Regions from separate parts of the Homo sapiens genome. Here region 2 is linked to region 1. Evidence: promoter capture Hi-C in human tissues and cell types (Jung and others, 2019). All regions are on one chromosome and are shown on one strand. The core of a region is centred on a gene start or on the middle of the fragment in contact, and the rest is flanking DNA. Distances in the headings are between cores, read along the strand shown.

What was found. Contacts are between HindIII fragments. The study calls those that stand out against the background at their distance.
Region 2: a contact is called between a fragment that was not itself captured here and the fragment with the promoter of BAIAP3 in region 1, in 1 of the 25 tissues and cell types used here (dorsolateral prefrontal cortex).

The regions. Positions count from the first base shown.
Region 1 is chr16:1,328,475-1,335,221 of GRCh38, forward strand. It overlaps BAIAP3 (BAI1 associated protein 3), which reads left to right and starts at 5,171. Exons shown (of 34, transcript NM_001199097.2): 1 at 5,171-5,275. It also overlaps the pseudogene RPS20P2. RefSeq lists an enhancer at 3,299-3,348 and silencers at 4,125-4,325, 5,061-5,220. The HindIII fragment of the contact is 17,320 bases long and covers 1-6,530 here.
Region 2 is chr16:1,632,344-1,639,090 of GRCh38, forward strand. It overlaps CRAMP1 (cramped chromatin regulator 1), which reads left to right. Exons shown (of 21, transcript NM_020825.4): 4 at 1-22; 5 at 5,481-5,564. Among named protein-coding and RNA genes, the nearest start is that of CRAMP1, 23 kb to the left of the region's middle. The HindIII fragment of the contact is 4,859 bases long and covers 424-5,282 here.

The sequences.
Region 1 (6,747 bases), core at 3,921-6,420:
GATACAAAAATTAGGCCGGGCGCGGTGGCTCATGCCTGTAATCCTAGCACCTTGGGAGGCTGATGCGGATGGATCACAAGGTCAGGAGTTCAAGACCAGCCTGACCAATATAGTGAAACCCTGTCTCTACTAAAAATACAAAAATTAGCCCTTTGAGGAAGACGTGGTGGTAGGTGCTGTGAATCGCTGATCCGCACGCTCCTGCTCCTGACTCACCACTGTCCGCTCTCGCCAAGGAACAAGCTGGTCAGGAAGCCACGCAGCAGCTATGGCTTTATTATTATTTTTTAAAAATTTATTTATTTTTTGAGACGAAGTCTAACACTGTCGCCCGGGCTGGTGTGTGGTGGGGCGATCTCGGCTCGCTGCGGCCTCCACCTCCCGGGTTCAAGCGATTCTTCTGCCTCAGCCTCCCGAGTGCCTGGGACTACAGGCACACGCCACCACACCTGGCTAATTTTTGTATTTTTAGTGGAGACGAGGTTTCACTATGTTGGCCAGGCTGGTCTCGAACTCCTGACCTCGTGATTCGCCCACCTCGGCCTCCTAAAGTGCTGGGATTACAGGTGTGAGCCACCACGCCCGGCCTAAAAAATTCTTTTGGCTTTTAAGGATACCAGAAAAACACCCAAGGAGCCGGAGATGGCAATTCACCAAAATTCACCAAATTCACCAAAATTCACCAAATTCGCCAAATTCACCAAATTCACCAAAATTCACCAAATCTGAATCACTCTAACGAGCTACAGCATAAAATCACTTGAAAAGGTGTGTGCTGACTTGATCAGAGGCACAAAGGAAAAGAATCTCAAAGTGAAAGGACCGGTTTGAATCCTACCAACACTTTGAGAATCACTACAAGAAAAACTCCAGATGAGGCCAGGTTACAGCTCACGCCGGTAATCCCAGCACTTTGGGAGGCCGAGGCGGGCAGATCACGAGGTCAGGAGATTGAGACCATCCTGGCTAACAGTGAAACCCCATCTCGACTAAAAATACAAACAAATTAGCTGGGCATGGTGGCAGGTGCCTGTAGTCCCAGCTACTTGGGAGGCTGAAGCAGGAGAATGGCGTGAACCTGGGAGGCAGAGCTTGCAGTGAGCCAATACCGCGCCACTGCAGTCCAGTCTGGGCGACGGAGCAAGACTCCATCTCAAAAAAAAACTTATAAAAAAAAAAACTCCAGATGAGCATCCATAAGCAACTCATTGACTTGCACAGTCCTTCTGAGATTGTTAAGCAGATTACTTCCATCAGTATTGAGCCAGGAGTTGAAGTGGAAGTCACCATTGCAGATGCTTAAGTCAACTATTTTAATAAATTGATTACCAGTTGAAAAAAAAAAACAAAAAAATACAAAAATCAGCTGGGCATGGTGGCGGGCGCCTGTAGTCCCAGCTACTCGGGAGGCTGAGGCAGGAGAATCACTTGAACCCAGGAGGCAGAGGTTACAGCCGAAATCACACCACTGCTCTCCAGCCTGGGCAACAGGGCAAGACTCCATCTCAAAAAAAAAAAAGAAAAGGAGGGACTCTGAAGCCCCCAGAGCTGGGAGGAGTCGCCTCCCAACCCCAGCTCTGCACAGAAGGATGCACACTGAGGGCCTGGCCTCTCCCTGCTGGGCCCCTAACCACAGTGAGCACAGAAGCCCATCTCGCTGGGAAGGGGCCTCTGACACCCCCACCCTCAGGCTGGTGGGAGGCGGGGCCAGGGGACAGGGTGCCATCCTCCCTGCCATCCAAGCCTCACCGCAGCAGGGGCTGTCCTGCCTGCAGGGCTCTGGCACACCAATGGCCTTTGTTTGGGGGCTTGGTAGGACCCTGTCTTGGGCCCACTTCTTTGTCCCTGCCCTGCCCTGGACCCCTCACAGATGCTGCTACTAGCACGGAGGCCTGAGAGAACTCCAGCGTGACACTGGGTGGTCACCTCCAGCCGGCCCCACCTGTGCACGCGTGGCAGCAGGACTCCCGGAGCTTCTGGTGTGGGATCTGGAGACCAGCATCTCAGGCATGAGGCCAGACTTGGGCTGAGGCCCTCCCACCCAGAGCCCCTCTCTTGATGGGGCAAGGAACAGGTTCTGGCAGTCTTCAGGGTCCTCCAGCTCCGGGGCAGGCAGGGTCCCTGGCCAGAGTCCCTGGGCTCTGACCCCACGAGCTCTCCAAGGACCCTGCCCTTCCTTGCTTGGGTCCTCAGAGGGAAGTTGGGGGCAGATTCTGGGAGGCTGTGCCTGCAATTTCTAGGGCTGCCACCAGAGGGTGGTAGCACTGGGCCCTGCGCTGTGCTCATGAGCGTGGAACAGGAGGGGCTGTCTAACTCTGCCATGGCCTCACCTGTGTGCTTCAGCGGCTTTGGCGCCTGCGTATCCAGAGCCTGGTGTTTTTACCTGCCCCCCCATCTCCGCCCCCCGCCACCGGCCCGGCCCTAAGGAGGAAAAGCTACTCTCCCTGCCTGCCAGACCCTTTCCAGCACAAAGTCCTGAGAATGTGAAAAGAGCCAGGCTTGAAAAATGGCTTTTCTCAGCTTTGCACAAGCAGCCCTGGTGCCCCAGCAGCCTCCTCAAGCTCTGACCCCGTCTGGGCAGGGGGTCTCGTGTCCCGACACATCGGTGGGAGGTGTTCCTGCACCTGCGCCATCCCCTCACTGTCCCCGGAGCACGGCAGCTGTCTGCACTCCGGTCCGAAGGCAGAGACGCCAGGGTAGCCCCTTCAGAGTGAGGCCTGGGGCTCAGGGTGGGGAGGGTGGGCGGCCCACTCTCCTGCCCTCTCTCTTAGTGGGAGGGGACTCACGCGAGGATGGGCTTCCAGCCCCAAGCTATGGAAAGGTAAATTGGGTCACTGGAGGGGCCGGAGTTCTGGCTGGGTGGCTGCAGTTCCCATCCCCACCAACTGGGACTGAGGCTGACCTGCTGTGAGTTGAGACTGGCTCACTGAGGTCCCCCAGCTGCACCCAAGGTGGGTGCTGCTGTTGTCCCCATTTTACAGAAGAGGGAAACTGAGGCCCGGGCAGTGGAGGGTCGCCCTGGGGCAGGGGTGAGCAGGGTGCTGGGACTTTGATCCAGGTCAGCCTGTCTTCAGCCTCAGAACAAGTTGGAGAATGAAGGCCTTGGTCACTGAGTGGGGTGTCGCTCGGATCGTTCATTCCTCGACTCCTCACCAAATGTTTGTGGAGGGGACAGTCCTAGTGACCGTCCTCTCCTGGGGAAACGGAGGCCCAGGGCTGGTTTGGGACTCAACCTATCACTATGTGGCCCTGGAAAAGCCCTTTCCCGTCTCCGGACTCCAGTCTCCCTACCTAGAAAAGAGTGGGGAGAGGTCTCCAAGGGTGCTCCCGCACCCAACGGACTGCAGTGTTGGTTTCAGGGTTGGTGCTCTCGTAGGGGCCGGAGCAGCGGCTGCCCCTCCCAACTTCCTGTTTACCGTAGCTGCAGAGCCTGTCCCTTCACTTAAAGCCAGTGTGATCACCATGGCAACCGGCCTGTGTTTGTTCCAACAGGTGGGCAGAACCTGGTGCAAGACCGCAGAGGCAGGGGCGTCACTCCCAGACCCGGTCTCCAGACCCACCAGCCCCTCAGGAGAACACTGCTACAGAGTGGGGCTGAGGGCCCAGGCCCCCTCCCCTGCTTCCCCCACCGCGTCCCTGTCCCAGCCAGTCCCTGCATTTCCTGCAAGCTCCCTGCCCTCCCCCACCGGCCTGGCTGTGCTGGGTCAGGATCCGGCAGAGCCTGGGCCGAGCGTCCCGAAGGAGAGCCCACCCAGGGGTCCTGCCCCCGATCCTGCACAGACAGGTGTGGGGCGGGCATGGATTTGAGTGAGTTGGGATCCAGAAGCCAAGACAGTTGTTGGCAGACGGGCCCCCTCCCTTTGAAGAGCTGTGTTCTGGAAGCCTGTCTGGCCTTGGGCTGCCCAGGTGCCCTTCGGGTGAAAACTCCAAAGTCTGACCACCCCCCACCCCTTGTCCCCAAAGGGCTGCGAGTGTCCAGCTGTATTCGACCAAGGGCAGGTGCGACCGGGGGGCCGCTGCGCCCTCGGCAAGTCTGAGAGCCTCAGGCCCCCGACAGGACCATGCTTAGCACGGACTTCTCAAAGTGTGGTCCCTGGACTGGCGGCAGCAGACTGGAGCTGGGAAGTGCAGGCGCTGGCTGGCGTGGGGACCACACCTGTGATCTCAGCGCCTTAGGAGGCCGGGGAAGGGGGATCCCTTGAGCCTGGGAGTTTGAGACCAGCCTGGGCAACATAGGGAGACCCCCATCTCCACAAAAGAAACCAAAAAACATTAGCCGGCGGGTGGTCCCAGCTACTGGGGAGGCTGAAGCGGGAGGACCACTTGAGCCGGAGAGTTCGAGGTTGCAGCGAGTGGAGATGGTGCCACTGCGCTCCAACCTGGTTGAGAGCTATTTTTGAGAGCTTTTTCGAGACTCTGTCTGAAAAAAAAAGGGAAAAAACGCAGATCGCGCCCCCACCCAGACTTCGGGACCAGCGGGTTGGGGACAGGACCCATCAATGCCTTAACAAACCCTGCAGGAGACCGCGGGCCCGCTGGGGTTCCAGGACAGCGCAGCGGAGGAAGAGCGGGGAGCCACCCGGGAGGGGCTGGCGGGGTCCAGTGCAGACCCCAGGGGCTCCGGGGGCTCTGGCCGGCTGTGACCCCACAAGCGCCAACTGGGCCCTCACCAGAGCCCCAGGGACGATCGCCCCACAGACCGTCCGCGTGGGCGTGGGGCGTCCCGAGTGGATCCCTGCAGGACGCATCCCCGCCCCGAGAAGAGAGCGGCGGGGCCCGCGAGGTGTCCCTGAGTCAGGCCCTTCCAGAAAGGTCTGCACCGCTGCTGGTCTTCGTGACCGTGGCTTCCCTGGGGTCCGCGGAGGAGACCCCGCCGACCACCCCCTTCTAGACCCCACGCGCCACGGGGAGGGCGCGCGCGGCCAGGCGGGGTCCCGAGGCAGCCAAGCCCGCTCCCCGTCCCGCAGCCACCTGTGGGTTGACTCACAGCCCCGCATCCCGGGGGAGGGGGCTCCGGCCCGGCTCAAGGCACGGAGACCCCGGCCGGGTCCCCTAAGGCGCCGTGGACGCGGGGGGCGGGGCGAGCGCGGTCAGGCCCCGCCCCGGTCAGGCCCGGCCCCGCCCCCAGTCAGACCCCGCCCCCGCAGCGGCGTCCGCCCAGCAGTTGCTCAGTCGTCGGCGCGCGCGGCTGGGAGCGGTAGCTGTGCCTCGGCGTCCCCGAGCTGGTGCCGAGCGCAGCGCCCCAGGAGCCCCCCCATCCCCGCGCCGGCCCACGGTAAGTGCCGCGGGCTGCGGCCAGTGCTGTTGGGCCGCCGTCTGGGCTCGGCCCCGCGCCCCAACCCGGACGGACCGACGGCCGCCGCCCCCTTGGTCCGGGTCCCCCAGGAGGCACGGGGGTGGCCTCCGAGGCGGGGGGCGGTGGGAAGGTCTCGACGTCCCCTCGGCCCTGGGGAAACTGAGGCCGCGCATGCTTGGAGGGGCGGGGTCTCGGGGGCATTTCCCCTCCGAACGCGCAGGAGAGGGTGCGGCGGTGGGGTCCGCACTGCGGAGCGGACGGGGAGGGTATCCGGGCGCTGGCGACGGCCTCCCCCGCACTTGAGCCGCCAAGCGAGGCTTCGACCCCCGCGCCTCCCTCCCCGGGGGAGCAGACGGGCCCGGGGCCTCCCAGCACCCCTCCCGGGCGGGCTGCACCCCCCAGCGTCCTCGTCCCTTCCCTCCTCCCGCAGGTCCTCGTAAGGCCCTTTAGTCCCCCCGAAATCCCTGCGAGTGCAAAGCGGCCCCTCCTTCAGCCCCACTCGGCAAAGGGCTGTGGGCTCTTGCCTGGGCCGGGGTCTCCGGGGGAGGAGTTTAAAGTGACACACTAGACCCGCCCCCAGACTCACCCCGGACCGCCCGCCCCCTCCGAGGGGAGAGACCCCCATAGAACTGGGGGTGTGGCTCCTGCGGGCGCCCGGGGCCCCGGGAAAGGGGGTGCCGCGAGGCGGGGCAGGGAGGGGGTCGGTGAGCAGAGGGAGGAGGGAGCGCTGCGCAGACACGGGCGAGGGGAGGAAGAAGGCGCCTCGGGCTCCGGTCTCCTGCGCTCCTGCTGGGCGCCAGCGGCTGGACCTTGGCAGCCGTCTGAGGCTTCGGGGAGCCCAAGGCCACCGGCAGCGCTTGTTAGAATGCAGATTCCCGGGGTTCGACTGGAATGAGACCCCGGGGAGCAGCGTTTGCAGCGGGCCCGCCAGGTGACCTGCACCTGGGCACCGCCATCGGCTTCGCAGGGGCCATCTGGAGGAGTCGGTGAGACCAGGGAGAGATTCCTGCGGGAAACCCCCAGGGCCTGGTGAAGGGGAGTCGGGGGGCTGAGGGAGGAAGAGCAGGGAAGCTGGAGAGAAGACCAAGAGGGCAGCGTGGAGAGCCAGCCTGTGGGGCAGATGTCCTGCCACCTCCCGCCCCAGGCACACACCCAGGGCACCATCAGCTAACCCCCTGCCCCAAATGTGGTAAGAAGGGCGCCCCCAACACGTTGAAGGCGTTTGTTCCTAGACAGCCTGCACTGGGGAGGAAGGCTGACCCAGCCTCTGCTCCGCTGCCCCCAGACTCAGCTGCCTCACTGCCCCCAACCCTGAGCCCCCAAATGGCCTGGCAGGAGACAGCTTGGCTTAAGAGTCCCAGGTTCACATCTGGGCTCTGGGCAAGTCGCCCCCACCCTGGGCTGTGAAATGAGATGTGCCATCCTCCTTGCAAAATGTCATTCCCCATTCA
Region 2 (6,747 bases), core at 1,603-4,102, 300 kb after region 1:
AAGTACATCGACTTTGATCATGGTGAGTGTGCCACGGGCCAGGCTCGGGGGTGCCCACAGGCAGGGCCGGCTTCTGCTCAGAGCGCAGCTTCCAGCAAGCCCGCCGGACCTGCTTTCTGGCATTTTCTCACCAGCCGCTTGGCCTGGGGCTCCTCGCCTTGCAGCGCTTTGGCTGATTGTGTGCTGTCTAACTCGGTCAAACCAAGTTGCCAGGAAGTGGCCCGTATCCCATGCTCCAGGGTTCTTACCACTGCTTTTCTGAGCTATGGTTTGTGTGTTTCCAGTGGCTCTGAGTGTGCGTGAGTTCTGGGTCCCTGGCTCACCTGAAGCCTGTGGTCTCCACTGCAAATGATAGCACCATGGTCCAGCGAGGGGCTTGGGCCGCAGGCACCGTGCCTGGCGCTGGTCTTCCTGGGGGACGGCCAGCCTTCCCAGGCCTCTCGCCCTCTACACTGGGACCCAGGTCTGCGTCGGCCCTCGTTCAGTCACGGGACCAAGTCATCCCCAGGTAGAATTCTGGCTTCTGGCTCAGAGCACCCTTTGGCTACTGGTGGCTTCTCCGGATGATGCTTTGTCCATCACCATCTCTGTCCTTGGGAGTCTTAGCTGCCTCCTGCCTCCGCCTATGAGAACTACCTCTCCAGCAGCGCACCTGTGCTGGGCCCTGCTCTTCATTCCTGTAGCTTCACACACAGCTTGGTCCTTCCAGATGTACCCCCAGAGCACCCCTCTGCCTTCTGAGCCTTCTTTCAGATGTCTCACATTCTGACCCAGGGTACCTGGACTGTGGCCACACTGCCACTCTTTGTGCCCTTGCCTGTGCCTCGTGGTGACCTAAAGTCCTTCGCCTTGGCCATTCCTGTGGTGTCCTCTGGGTGGGTTATGGCATCTTGACCATGGTGCATCAGCTTTGCCCGGAGCTTTGGGAAGAGCCAGGACCCAGCTCCCCTGTGTGACTGGGCAGAGCCCTGAGGGCCGCAGACACCCCCTGCCCACCACGCAGCTAGCTTCTCCACTGAAGAACCTCCACTGGGAGATTGTCACCGTTTCTGGAGATCCATGGAAACGGCTGTTGGTCTCTGCACATTAGGGGTACCCCTTGATTCGGGTCTGCCGCCGATGCGGTTTTGTTTGTTTGCTTTTGGTATCCACGTGACCATTCATGTAAGATTTTCTGCTGACTTCACCTATTTATAGCACATCAGTTCCGTTTTGTCCTATATTTGATGCCTGTGCTGGTCTTCTCATGTTCAGCTCACTTGTTTATTTGAAATCTCAGCACTGGTCAGATCCCGTCATCCAAGGCTGTTGTGGTTAATGTCAGGTTGTGGTGAGTGGCCTTGTGCCTTCCAGAGTGGCACGCAGCACCGACTTTTCATTGTCGGCCTCTTCCTGTGTCGTCTGTCCTTTGCATCGTTCATTAGTGCCTTTTTGAAAGACAGTCCAGGCTGCGCGCGGTGGCTCATGCCTGTAATCAGCACTTTGGGAGGCAGAGGCGGGCGGATCACGAGGTCAAGAGATCAAGACCATCCTGGCCAACATGGTGAAACCGCATCTCTACTAAAAATACAAAAATTAGCTGGGCATGGTGGTGCACACCTGTACTCCCAGCTACTCGGGAGGCTGAGGCAGGAGAATTGCACCACTGCACTCCAGCTTGGCCACAGAGCAAGACTCCGTCTCAAAAAAAAAAAAAGAAAGAAAGTCAGTCCATGAGAGCAGATCTGCCATCCACTGTGGCTGGTCTTGAAAAGCTCTCTATGGGGGAAGCTGGCCAGCAGCGGAGGGGACTGGGCAGCTGTTTAGTAGATGAGGTATAGAGAGAGGGATGGGATTCCAGGAGCTTCGGTCTAGTGTGCTTTGCTTGAACCATCTGCGGGCAGGGTGGGAAGCGTCTTTGGACCCTCAGGCTCCTGGCGTAGACTTATCTCCTCTTCTGAGGTTCAAATGCACATTCTACTTGCCAACCCAGGCTCTCTCCCATGTCAATTTCAGAAGGCAGTCAAAGCAAACATTTCTTTTCTAATTGTGTCACCTTTCCCTGTTAAACAACCTCCTAATCCTAAACTTGCTGGTGCGAGGAGGCCTCATTCCTCTTTGGCCCTTCTGTCCATCTAGGGTGAAGGGTAAATGCTCCCTCACACCTCTCGGTGGGGGGTCACACCCAACACAGGTCCTTTTCCCTTCTCCGTGTGGGCCCCTGTGCTTCCCTCTCTTCCTGACCTGGCACAGCAGGCTCCTACAGCCTTGGTGTCTCCTGTTCGTGCATCTTTGGTGTGACCCCACATGATGTGCCTTCTTCCTGTTGAGCTCACCGTTCTCCCGTGTTCTCCCGGGTTCTCTGATGGCCCTGACTGTCTCTTCAGCAGGGCTGTCTGCCTCCGTGCCAGCGGGCAGCGGCATTGGGGCACCCGATGCTGACTTGCCCAACAGGAGCATGAGGCTGGAGGCCACTAGGACACTGCGAAGTGACTGGCCCCATGGACTGTCATTGCGCATCAAACAGAGTGGCAACTTTTTCACGTTACATGTATTTTTGGCGTGCTTTGGAGTTTTGTTTTGTTTTGTTTTTTGAGCCAGAGTCTTGCTCTGTTGCCCAGGCTAGAGTGCCATGGCGCACTCTCAGCTCACTGTAACCTCCATCTCCCAGTTTCAAGCGATTCTCATGCCTCAGCCTCCCGAGTAGCTGGGATTACAGGTGTGCACCACCACACCCAGCTAATTTTATATTTTTTAGGAGAGATGAGGTTTCACTATGTTGCCAAGCTGGTCTTGAACTCCTGAGCTCAGGAAATCCACCTGCCTCGGCCTCCCAAAGTGCAAGGATTACAGGCGTGAGCCACCACGCCTGGCCTGTGCTTTGGAGTTTTGAAGAGCACACCGTGTGCACTTTATCATGGGTTTGTCTGACTCATCTTGTGGCGTGAGACACAGAGTGGTGGCAAGCGAGCGTGGAAGGGACTGACTCCGCCCCCAGCTTGGGGGCCTTGCGTGTGTGTTCGTCTTACTAATCTCCCGTGGTTTCCATGCACATCTGCGTTTCCTTGCTGCTGTCCATTGCTCAGTGGAGATTTTGCTTCACGAACTCAAAGTTGGATGAGGTGAGCTTGGTTCCTGTCCCTGAGTGTGTAATAAAACATGAGGTGCCACCTAGGAGGCCGTGGGGCCAGGCGGGGCATCAGGGACACCTCCCGGAAGCCCTGCTTCGTCCCAGGGTCCCACCTCCCCTGGGGTCCCTTGTCTGCAGTGTCTTGCTCTTGGTGCTACTTTCTTGTTTCTGGGTTGTGGGTTTTTTTCTTTTTGCCATTTCAAATAGTGGACTTTAAAATATATATTTTAGAAATGGGGATATTATTCACCCTTTTAAAGCATACAACTTAGTGGTTCTTAATGTACTTACAAGGTTATGCAGCCATTGCCACTCTCTAGTTGCAGAATATGTCCATTGCCCAGGAGGAAACCCTGTGCCCCGGTGCTGGGAGCCCTCAGTTTACTACCTCCTGTCTCTATGGATCGTTCTACTCTGGATGTTTCATAGAAATGGGATCACGTGCTATGTGTCCTTCTGTGCCTGGTTTCCTTCACTCAGCGTCAGGTTTCAGGGTTTGTCTGTGTTGTAGCGTGTGCCAGTCCTTTGTATGGCTGGATTATTTTCCTTTGGGTGGATGGCCACATTTTGCTTGTCTACTGAATAGTGGATCTTAAAGCTTTCCGAGTCATGGGCTCCTTTAAGAAAGTCTGATGAGGCCAGGCGTGGTGGCTCACGCCTGTAATCCCAACATTTTGGGAGGCCGAGGTGGGCGGATCACCTGAGGTCAAGAGTTTGAGACCAGCCTGACTAACGTGGTGAAACCCCGTCTCTACTAAAAATACAAACATTAGCAGGGCGTGGTGGCGCATGCCTGTAATCCCAGCTACTTGGGAGGCTGAGGCAGGAGAATCCCTTGAACCTGGGAGGCGGAGGTTGCAGTGAGCTGAGATCGCGTCACCGCACTCCAGCCTGGGCAACAAGAGCGAAACTCTGTCTCAAAAAAAAAAAAAGAAAGAAAGAAAAAAAGAAAGTCTGATGAGCCCTTAGGTCTTAGGTCTTTCTCTCAGAAGAGCCTTTGAGAGCAGTTGGCCTGTGCTTAGCCGTGTCCGAGACCCATGGTCCAGAATCCTCCTCATATCTTGAAAGCCTGCTTCTCCATTTACCAGTCTTAGGGCCTTGAGAACAGGTCTCTGAGGAGAGAACTAGAGAGGACAATTGTGAGAGTAGAGGGGACAAATGGCCTTCACCCCTGCTCTGTGAAGTGACCCAAAGGGGCCTGGACTGTGTTGTCACTTGGTTTCCCTAGCAGGATTAGGTCTGGTGTAATACAGTAACAAAATGCAAAATAGCAGTGGCCCAAGCGCCTCAGAATTCACTGTCTCGTGGCAGAGACGCCTAGAGGCTGGCGCCCAGGGCAGGCAGGACCCAGGTGCCTCCCATTCTTGTGCTTGGCTGTCCTTGGTGACAGCTCCAGGCAGTGGCTCTTGAGGAAAGAGGGGTGGGAAAAGGGGAACCCTCCTGCCCAAATCAGGCTCTTTAAGGAGGCTTCTGGAAGTCTCCACTACTTCCAGTGGTGTAGCCATGACCAGCTGTCCATGTCTCAGCCTGTTTGCCTCCCAAATAAAACAGGGGCCTTGGCTGGGCACGGTGGCTCATGCCTGTAATCCCAGCACTTTGGGAGGTTGAGACAGGTAGATCATTTGAGGTCAGGAGTTCGAGACCAGCCTGGCCCACATGGTGAAACCCTGTCTCTACTAAAAATACAAAAATTAGCCAGGCCATAATGGTGTGCACCTGTAATCTCAGCTACTTGGGAGGCTGAGGCAGGAGAATCTCTTGAGCCTGGGAGGCAGAGGTTGCGGTGAGCCGAGATCATGCCACTGCACTCCAGTCTGGGCGAGAGAGTGAGACCCTGTCTCCAAGAAAAGAAAAAAAAAAAAAACAGGGCCTCTTACTGAGGAAGGAGAATGGGCCTCAGGCAGGGGTGAGCACCTGTCCTTGGCTCCTCCTCCCGCCTGGGCCCGGGCTATGCAGATCCACTGTCCTGGGAGGGCACAGGTGAGGCAGGAAGGCAGCATCCAGGTTTCAGGGCTGCTGGCCTCACCTGTGTGCAGAGATGGATGACAGGTTTAGTGCTGGCCACATCTGCCACCTTCACGAGTACCAGCTGTTCTGAGTGTTGTGTTTTCTCCTCCAGGGGACATTTCCTCTGCCTATTGGGGTAAATTTCTAACGCCCCACTTTGGTTTAACTTTTTATTTTGAAAATCGCAGACACAGCACCGTGTTCTATACACTCTGCCCAGTGTCCCCTGTGGTTGACAGCTTGCATGACAAAGGTACAGGGAGGAGATCCAAGAAACCACGTGAGCCTGGTGTGGCTCTCACACCCAAGCCAGGCAGCGCCTCCTGTTCCCCTCTCTAAAGCCGCCTTCTCTTCTGTTTCTCAGTGTTCTCTCGAGGCCTGAAGAAGTCATCCCAGGAACTGTATGGCCTGATCTGCTATGGCGAGCTGCGCAAGAAGATTGGGGGCTGTGAGTACGCTGACTGTGGGGTTGCCCACGGCTCCTCCTGTCCTTTGTCACCTTTGGGCTTTAGTGCTCAGAGTTGTTTCTAGTTTCCCTCTAACTTTTATCTTGAAAAAATTTTACTAGAAGAGGTGAAGAATATGATGGCGGCCGTGCTCTTTAGCTTAGATGGACCTGTTGCTGACGTTGGCTACATTTGCTCTCTTTCTCCATGCACATGCACACATGCTCGCGTGCACACATGTGTTCACACACTCTGCATTCCACTCGACTGTAAGATGTCACGCCACAGCCCAGAATACCTCCACCGGCATCACCTCAGAGAACATTTCTCCTATATAGCCTTGATACCATGGTCGCACCTAGACTTTTAGCATTTACCAAACAGGTGTAGTGATCTTACCTAATTTCCTGCCCATATTCAGATTTTCTAAAACATCCCAAAATATCAGTCAGGGCTTCTGTCAAGGGCCGTTGCCCTGCATGTGACTGTGGAGTCTCCCTTGGGTGTCTTTGACTTAGAGCGGCCGCACTGCCTGGGCTTCTGAGACATTGCAACGCGCTCAGGCCTTCCTCACGCAGGCCCTTGCTTGGATTTGTTCCGATCGTCTCCTCGGGACCAGATTCCCTTGAGACATTTTTGACACGACCTCTAGGTAGGGACATTGTAGACTTACCAGGCGCTTGTGCCCAGCGCCCCTCAGCCCTGCTTCTTCTGCCTGACTTCATAAGAAGAGAGCATGCCTGGGCTGTCCAGTGGGCACTGTAGGGGATCCCCCCCTCTTCAGTGGGATACTGCACGACCACGCCAGCTAGCATGTCACAGCTCAGGGCGGGTGGTGGGGCTGAGAGGACAGATACGGAGCAGTCGCCCTGTCTGTGCCAGGCCTGCACCACACTCTGTCCCCTTGCTGCCCCTCCATGCCTTGCTGTGTCCTGCGGGGTGGCTGCTGCAATCTAGTGTGGCATTTGTGTGTGGGAGGCCCTGCCCTCCTGCACTTCCCCACTGGGTCTGTCCCCTGTGGGCCCAGCCACTCCTCTTACCTCCTCCAGCCTGCCTCTCCAGCCCGCACTCATGTCCGTGGGCCTCGTGTCCCAGCTCTTCATGCCTGTTCCTGCCGCCTCTCATCTGCCCTCTCTCAGCCTTGGGAAGCATCCCAGGCCCCAAGGAGTTTACGCCACAGCTCTC